3 separate regions of the Homo sapiens genome follow, and regions 1 and 2 are each linked to region 3. Evidence: promoter capture Hi-C in human tissues and cell types (Jung and others, 2019). All regions are on one chromosome and are shown on one strand. The core of a region is centred on a gene start or on the middle of the fragment in contact, and the rest is flanking DNA. Distances in the headings are between cores, read along the strand shown.

Region 1 (2,700 bases), core at 198-2,697, 1.1 Mb before region 3:
AGGTAATACATAAAATAATAAATGACAAAAAGCAATCCAATGTTGAAATGTGAAGAGACCATCAGGAAAATAAAAATATGCTATACAACGGGGTCTGCTGGTTTCATGAAAATAACAGCAGGGGATCTGCGTAAAGATAGAAACTCTAGTTCATATCATATGAAGTGCTAGCAAGAAAACAGCAAAAAACAGTGGGACCAAAGTGGGGCTAATTATGAAAGAATAAAGTATGAGACAGAAAATGAGACAGAGAATTTAATAAATAAACCCTGAGTCGTAATGAAAGGATTCTCTGTATTTGTTTTGTATTCATTGCTTCACTGTTGTAAATACCATAAAGTTGGCTGACCAGTGATTAAAAATGAAACAAGGTAAGTTAAATTACACCAAAACAAGGAAGCCGAATCACCAGAGGTTTTCCAGCACCATTTAATAACCCATGTGTGGGTCAAGAAGCTCCAAGGGCTCCAACACCCTGAAGACGCTGCCGATTCCTCAGTGATTCACTTCTGCTTGGACCTGCTCAGTGGTCAGAATATTCAGTCCAATTCGAACCTATGAACTTTAATTTGCAGTCTTTTTGATTCTCACTTTTCTTGTTTGCTCAACGGGCCCCAAATGGGCACATTATTGGCCTTGTGTTCTCTGGGCGTCTTTTGATTGTTTTCTTTCCGCTTCCTTCTGGGTCTTATGCCAAGCTTGGCTTCAGCAACACCAGAGGAAGGACTAAAGACAAACTGTATAGTTTCACCATTCCATTCCCCAGTGAGCCGATTCAGCAGGGAGCACCATTCTAAAAGAAAGGCACGTTCTGCTCATTTACATGCTGCTACCCAGAATACTCTGCAAACTCCTTGGAGAACCCAGCCAGACACACATCAAAAGCAGCAGGGTTTGTTCATGGGCATGTAGTAAGGCCTCCAAAAGTGTTTCTGAAGAAAAATGCACATAGAAAAACACCTACAAATATACCTGGAGGAAGAAAACGCTCATTGTGATGAGTGCTACTAAAGGATGACTCACGTGTGTCCACCGTCTCCTGAATTGGGATGAAGCCCACAGGCAGTGTGTCCTTGATGTCAATGAGCTTCATATCTACTAACACGTTCCCCAGATGACTCTTGGGAAGAAAGAAAAGAGATACAGACTATTAATCTGAACATGCATGTGGTGGGTTTGCCATTTTGGCTTCCAGATGCATATTTAACACAATGACTCGTGCAGCTTTATGACAGCAGGTTAATTAGAGTAGGTGACACTTAATGGTCCCCAGTGGTTATGCAGGGACTCGTGTGGCCCCTGGGAAGGAGTTTCATCTGCGGAACCTCAAAGCCACTCAACTCAGACACGGCCTTGGTGAGGCAGGAGCAACCCAGGAGATGCTTTAGACATAACCCAGCAGAGGGCAGCTGTGCACACAGGTCCCAGGACCAGGCTGCCATTCAGCCCTGAGCATCAGATCTCAAGGCCAGGAGGTTTTAGGAAGAGCAAATTCCTGAGGCACTCGTAGGAAAGAGCTGCATCTAAACCTAACAGGGAACCAATCACTCTCCTAAGTGATCACCAGTCTGCATACTGACACACATTTCAGTTGCTAGATACATTCTGCAAAATCCCAAGAATCATACACTAATACAGAGTGAAAGCCCTGCTGCCTCAATATTACACATCTTCTAAAATGACACGCACAAGGGCCTCCTAAAGTTTCTGTTTAGTGGTAGTATATGGGGTCCACAGTGCGCAGTTTCGGTAACTGGTGTACAAATATCTTTCTAAGACAGTACACCATTCTGTAATTGCGAGAGAGAATTCTTTGCAAACACGCCAGCACTTGCAGCCCACATTTCAAGCTGGAAATGAGCTCTAAAGATATCTACCCTACAACTTAAATATGTGGGGCCACTTTGGAGATTTCATTAAAATCTTCAGAGTAATTTGCAGCTTGGTTCCCCCTCTCTCGTCAGAGCCAGTTAAGGAAAGAATGATGGGCTCAAATCCCAAATCTCTCCTGTTAGGATACTAGCAGTGCACTCCACGTGCCCATTTTGCAGAAGTGCCTCATCCCCGAAGCCCAGTGTGAACATGCTCTCTGTTTACTTGTTCAGCATCCTTGGACAAGCATCTAGTTGGTCAGCCATCACTCTGCCCTGGACAGCAACTTCTCAGGCTGTTGTTCCATCTTGCTTAGAGAAGAAGGGCTGCTACCTCCATCTCTGCACATGGGAGCCAAGATCCCACCTCCACCTGCACTGTGTCACGTCTCTGAAAGCCAAGCAGGGAGTTCTTATCATCTAAACTGTGTTATGTTCCCTCTTGGCACTCTCTTTTTCCCTTCCTATCAATTTATGGGGTTATTTGTTTAATATCTGTCTTGCTTCTAGAGTTTAAGAACCATGAAGACCAAAACTATCTCTGTTCCTACTATAAATACAAGCCTAGCATGGTTTTTGCCACACAGCAGGTGCTCAGTAACTACTTGCTGAATAAATTAATTTCGGGTGCACATTTTTCAACCGGGCCACTCAGAGTCACAAATCGAACTGGAGGCCGGGCGCTGTTGCTCATGCCTGTAATCCCAACACTTTGGGAGGCCAAAGTGCGTGGGTAGCTTGAGTTCAGGAGTTTGAGACCAGCCTGGGAAACATGGCGAAACCCCATCTCTACAAATTAAAAAAATTGGCTGGGTGTGGTGGCACTCAT
Region 2 (2,700 bases), core at 151-2,650, 1.5 Mb before region 3:
GAGGTCTCTGCGGCTTTGTCCATTTTTCTTCATTTATTTTCTTCACTTTATTCTGTTTCTCATACTAGAGAATCTCAGTTGACCTATCTTCAAGTGTATTGATTCTTTCTTCCACTTGTTCAAATCTGCATTAAGTCCCTCTAGTAAATTTTTTACTTCTGCTATTTTACTTTTTGACTATTCTATTTGGTTCTTTCCTATAATTTCTTTCTTTTTTTGAGAAGGAGTCTTGTTCTGTCACCCAGGCTGGAGTGCAGTGGCACGATCTTGGCTCACTGCAACCTCTGCCTCCTGGGTTCAAGTGATTCTCCTGTGTCAGCATACCGAGTAGCTGGGATTGCAGGTGTGTGCCACCATGCCCAGCTAATCTTTGTATTTTTAGCAGAGACAGGATTTCACCATGTTGGCAAGGCTGGTCTCAACCTCCTGACCTCAAGTGATACTCCTGCCTTGGCCTCCCAAAGTGCTGGGATTACAGGCATGAGTCATACTGCACAGCCCTTTCTTATAATTTCTATCTCTTTATTGATATTGATATTCTCTACTTAATAAGACATTATTTTCATACTTCACTTTAGTTTTTAGACTTGGTTTCTTTTAGTTCTTTGAACACACTTAAGATAGCTGATTTAAGTTGCTTTCCTCATAAATTCAATGTCTGGGTTTCCACAGGTACAGTTTCAATTTATTGCTTTTTTGCTGTTTGTGGGCCATATTTTCTTGCTTTTTTTTTTTTTTGGCATGTCTCAATTTTGTGTTGAAAATTGGCCATTTCAAATAATTGAATGTGGCAACTCTGGAAATCCAATTCCTCCTCTCCTTTCTGCCCCCCAAGGTTTGTATTTGTGGTAGCTTTTTGTTGCTTGTTTAGTGACTTTTCTGAACAAATTCTGCAAGGTCTATATTCTTTGTCATGTGTGGCTACTGTGACATATTCCTTGTCATGTGTTGGCTACTGAAATCTCTGATTTGTTACCTTAGTGGGCCAGGTAACAGCTGGACAGACATTTTCTTTTCTTTTCTTTTCTTTTCTTTTCTTTTTGAGATGGAATCTCGCTCTGTCGCCAGACTGGAGTGCAGTGCACGATCTTGGTTCACTGTAACCTCTGCCTCCCGGGTTCAAGTGAACCTCCTGCCTCAGCCTCCCAAGTACCTGGGACTACAGGCACGCGCCAGCATGCCCAGGTAACTTTTGTATTTTTAGTAGAGATGGGGTTTCGCCATGTTGGCCAGGATGGTCTCGATCTCCTGATTGCGTGATCCACCTGCCTCGGCCTCCCAAATTGCTGGGATTACAGACGTAAGCACCGTGCCCAGTCGACATTTTCTTAAATGCCTAGAACCAATAAGTCCCTAAGTCTCTTTGAGGGGCTATATTTGTGTATATGTGTGTTTTGGGGCATGCCTTCAACATCCAGTCAGGCAGCGTACAACTCCGCTTTTGCCTTCACTTCCTGCTGACGCAGAGCTTCAAGGTTAGCCAGAGGTGAGAGTTTAAGGCCTTCCCACATCTTTCCAGAGCATGTGCACAGCCCTACAGATGTGTCTGGCTTTCTTGATTCCCTGGGATACGTCGGAGCTTTTAAAAGGCCCCCTATTGTCATCTCACGCCCCAGATTTTCCTTTTAAGCTTTTTGCTCAGCTTCTTGCTTGCCCCAACAGCTACGGCAGCCTCTGGCACCCAATGTTCAACAATTGCCTCTAATGTTTTGGGCATATGGGCCTGAAGAAAAGTTGTTTTCACTGGGTGAGCTCTGAATCAGGTGGAATAAAGACAGCTTTCTAAGTGGGATCTTCCGTGGAACCACCAGACAAGTCAAATACTGACAATTCTCTGGGAATGGGACTTTGAACTGCTCCAACCCCTTCGGTCCCTTCCACTGGTTACCAGACTGTTGATTTTTACTGTAATTGCAGTGAAAAGGCTACTGGAGAGCTGGGGACGGGGGATGTGGAAATAGGAAAAGTTAAAATGCCACAGAGCTTGCTGTTTTTACTGAGATATAGCTGTTGGCTTTTTTTTTTTTTTTTTTTTTTTTTTTTTTTAGTACTCCCAGATTGCTGCAAGCCTTTGATTAATTTCCGGAGTTCTGTAAGAGTTGTTTCTGACAATTGTTGCCAGTGTTTTCATTGCTTTTATGAAGGAAGGAACTTTCAGAAGACCTTACTCTGCCATTTTTGCTGATGTCACCCCCTTTTTTTCTTAGGGGACCATAAAATAATAGCGTTTCTTACAATTGCTGAAATCTCAGGTTTGATAAAATACGGTAAGCCTTAGCTCTAAAACATAACTAACTAATGGGAGAGTAAAGAATAAGGTGAAACTACCCCGTCTCTACTAAAAATACAAAAAATACAAATACAGGTGGCGGGCGCCTGTAGTCCCAGCTACTCGGGAGGCTGAGGCCGGAGAATGGCGTGAACCTGGGAGGCGGAGCTTGCAGTGAGCCGAGATCGCGCCACTGCACTCCAGCCTGGGCGGCAGAGCAGGAGACCGTCTTAAAAAAAAAACAAAAAAACGTAAGGTGAAACTAAAAGCTAGGCAATAAAGATATGGATGATGGGGCTGACACATGAATTAAATATCAGTTCTCATATTATTAAGGAGATACTGATTATTATCTCTTGGCTTCGTTCTATCAATTATGTTAAAATTTAAGGATAACTATTCAAATAATATAAATAGAATATATAATTTAT
Region 3 (2,740 bases), core at 111-2,610:
CCGGAAGCGGAGGTTGCAGTGAGCTGAGATTGCACTACTGAACTCCAGCCTGGGCGTGACAGAGTGATACTCCGTCTTGAAAAAAAAAAAAGTATTGGCAATAGAGTGAACTCCACCTGGTTATCAATCCTAACTCCATCACTCACCAGCTCTGTGACTTGTTTAGTTATTTAATCTTTTTCAGTTTCAATGTCCTCATCTGGAAAACGGGAAATGCCTACCGAGTATTGAACTGTCAAGACTAAATGACACATGAAAAGCACACTGAACAATGCTTAATCCACGGTAGGCTTTCAGCAAATAGTGGTCTCTATTATTTTTTGCAACAGGATGTTATATAAGAATAAGGCATTATCAAGACGATTTTCGCCTATCAAATGTGTTGTCTGCGTGTACATCAGACCTTTTCCTGGAATGAAGGTAGAAAAGTATCAACAATAAAGGATGGAGAAAGCCCCGTAAATGATAACCTTTGCCCCAGAGGGAAAGGATGGGCAGCGGAGGGGAAAGTAAAGGGTGGCAAGCTAGAAAAATTAGACATCCAGTGTGGGAGGGCTGGCACTGGAGTGGGTTGCCACAGTAGGGAGGGGACTCAGAGCTGGAGGCAATTCCTTTGGCCGGGCTTGTCCTGCGACTTACCGTGGGGCAGCGCAATGTGGAGAGGCCTGGTAAAATGGCTGGGCAAGGGTGCGGAGGGGACATAACTGGCAGGAAGGAGTCATGATTCGTGGTCGAACAGAGTCCAGACCAGCTCGACCTGTGAGCAACGAACGGCCCTGAGACTCGCATACCCCAATACCGGTAGTGGCCGTGAAGGGCAAAGAAATGTGTTCTGAGGCGATCCCAGCATCTAAGCTGCGACTGGTCTACTCAGAGACTGGATGGAAGCTGGGAAGAGAAAGCTGCTTCCCGCTTCGGGGTGAGGGATGGAGGAAGGGAGAACAAGCAGTAGAGAAGAAAAAGTTTCAGATCCCACAGCCCCGGGGGGTCACTCCTGCTGGACCTACTCCGACCCCCTAGGGCCGGGAGTGAAGGCGGGACTTGTGCGGTTACCAGCGGAAATGCCTCGGGGTCAGAAGTCGCAGGAGAGATAGACAGCTGCTGAACCAATGGGACCAGCGGATGGGGCGGATGTTATCTACCATTGGTGAACGTTAGAAACGAATAGCAGCCAATGAATCAGCTGGGGGGGGCGGAGCAGTGACGTTTATTGCGGAGGGGGCCGCTTCGAATCGGCGGCGGCCAGCTTGGTGGCCTGGGCCAATGAACGGCCTCCAACGAGCAGGGCCTTCACCAATCGGCGGCCTCCACGACGGGGCTGGGGGAGGGTATATAAGCCGAGTAGGCGACGGTGAGGTCGACGCCGGCCAAGACAGCACAGACAGATTGACCTATTGGGGTGTTTCGCGAGTGTGAGAGGGAAGCGCCGCGGCCTGTATTTCTAGACCTGCCCTTCGCCTGGTTCGTGGCGCCTTGTGACCCCGGGCCCCTGCCGCCTGCAAGTCGGAAATTGCGCTGTGCTCCTGTGCTACGGCCTGTGGCTGGACTGCCTGCTGCTGCCCAACTGGCTGGCAAGATGAAGCTCTCCCTGGTGGCCGCGATGCTGCTGCTGCTCAGCGCGGCGCGGGCCGAGGAGGAGGACAAGAAGGAGGACGTGGGCACGGTGGTCGGCATCGACCTGGGGACCACCTACTCCTGGTAAGTGGGGTTGCGGATGCAGGGGGACGGGGCGTGGCCGCCTGGCCTGGCGTGAGAAGTGCGGTGCTGATGTCCCTCTGTCGGGTTTTTCTGCCAGCGTCGGCGTGTTCAAGAACGGCCGCGTGGAGATCATCGCCAACGATCAGGGCAACCGCATCACGCCGTCCTATGTCGCCTTCACTCCTGAAGGGGAACGTCTGATTGGCGATGCCGCCAAGAACCAGCTCACCTCCAACCCCGAGAACACGGTCTTTGACGCCAAGCGGCTCATCGGCCGCACGTGGAATGACCCGTCTGTGCAGCAGGACATCAAGTTCTTGCCGTTCAAGGTTCGACCGGGTTTTTCTCATCCAGTTAGAGAACGGGTGGGTGGTGGGAGTATTTAGAGTTATAAGTCTCTGGAAAAGTGTTGAGACAACAGTTGAAGGTTATAGACATGATGTATGTAATAACTTTAATACTATTAGTATGTTACAAAACTTAAGACAGTTGCTGTCGTACTGTCTACGATAGTTTAGGAATAAAAGACCGATTAAAACTGAACTTTGTAAGACACCTATACTCCCTGAAGTATTTCTAGTCAATTTGCAGCCCCAAGGGACCAAAATAAACCAAATTGTGGGGATGGTAGTGGGTCTTTTAAACTTTGAGATGTCATTGTATCTGTGTCTGAAAACAATAATTCTTTAAAATAGGTGGTTGAAAAGAAAACTAAACCATACATTCAAGTTGATATTGGAGGTGGGCAAACAAAGACATTTGCTCCTGAAGAAATTTCTGCCATGGTTCTCACTAAAATGAAAGAAACCGCTGAGGCTTATTTGGGAAAGAAGGTAAATATTTCTAGAACAATGTTAAGTATTTTTTGATCATTAGTATTCTCGGTTGGCTGTTATGTATAGAAGCCTTCGTGAAGGGTTTCAAAAATTTTAATCAGAATGGTATTCATGCTTGTCAGGTTTAATTATTGAGTCCCTTACTATAAGCCAAACAAAATAGACTTTTCATGTATTATTTAATGCTTACAATTCCAGGGACATAA

Evidence for each region. The method cuts DNA at HindIII sites, captures the fragments that hold promoters and counts their contacts. A contact is called where the count stands out against the background at its distance.
Region 1: a contact is called between a fragment that was not itself captured here and the fragment with the promoter of HSPA5 in region 3, in 1 of the 25 tissues and cell types used here (lymphoblastoid cells).
Region 2: a contact is called between a fragment that was not itself captured here and the fragment with the promoter of HSPA5 in region 3, in 1 of the 25 tissues and cell types used here (dorsolateral prefrontal cortex).

What each region holds. Positions count from the first base shown.
Region 1 is chr9:126,384,982-126,387,681 of GRCh38, reverse strand. MVB12B (multivesicular body subunit 12B) reads right to left here. Exons shown (of 10, transcript NM_033446.3): 4 at 1,024-1,120. Among named protein-coding and RNA genes, the nearest start is that of NRON, 24 kb to the left of the region's middle. The HindIII fragment of the contact is 7,787 bases long and covers 1-2,700 here.
Region 2 is chr9:126,732,379-126,735,078 of GRCh38, reverse strand. No RefSeq gene overlaps it. Among named protein-coding and RNA genes, the nearest start is that of ZBTB43, 71 kb to the left of the region's middle. The HindIII fragment of the contact is 3,995 bases long and covers 1-2,700 here.
Region 3 is chr9:125,239,963-125,242,702 of GRCh38, reverse strand. HSPA5 (heat shock protein family A (Hsp70) member 5) reads left to right here and starts at 1,360. Exons shown (of 8, transcript NM_005347.5): 1 at 1,360-1,698; 2 at 1,796-2,027; 3 at 2,394-2,531. The coding sequence starts at 1,577. It overlaps HSPA5-DT (HSPA5 divergent transcript), which reads right to left and starts at 1,047. Exons shown (of 3, transcript NR_186826.1): 1 at 640-1,047. RefSeq lists enhancers at 762-1,071, 721-1,225, 1,039-1,333, 1,226-1,730, 1,872-1,951. The HindIII fragment of the contact is 17,872 bases long and covers 1-2,740 here.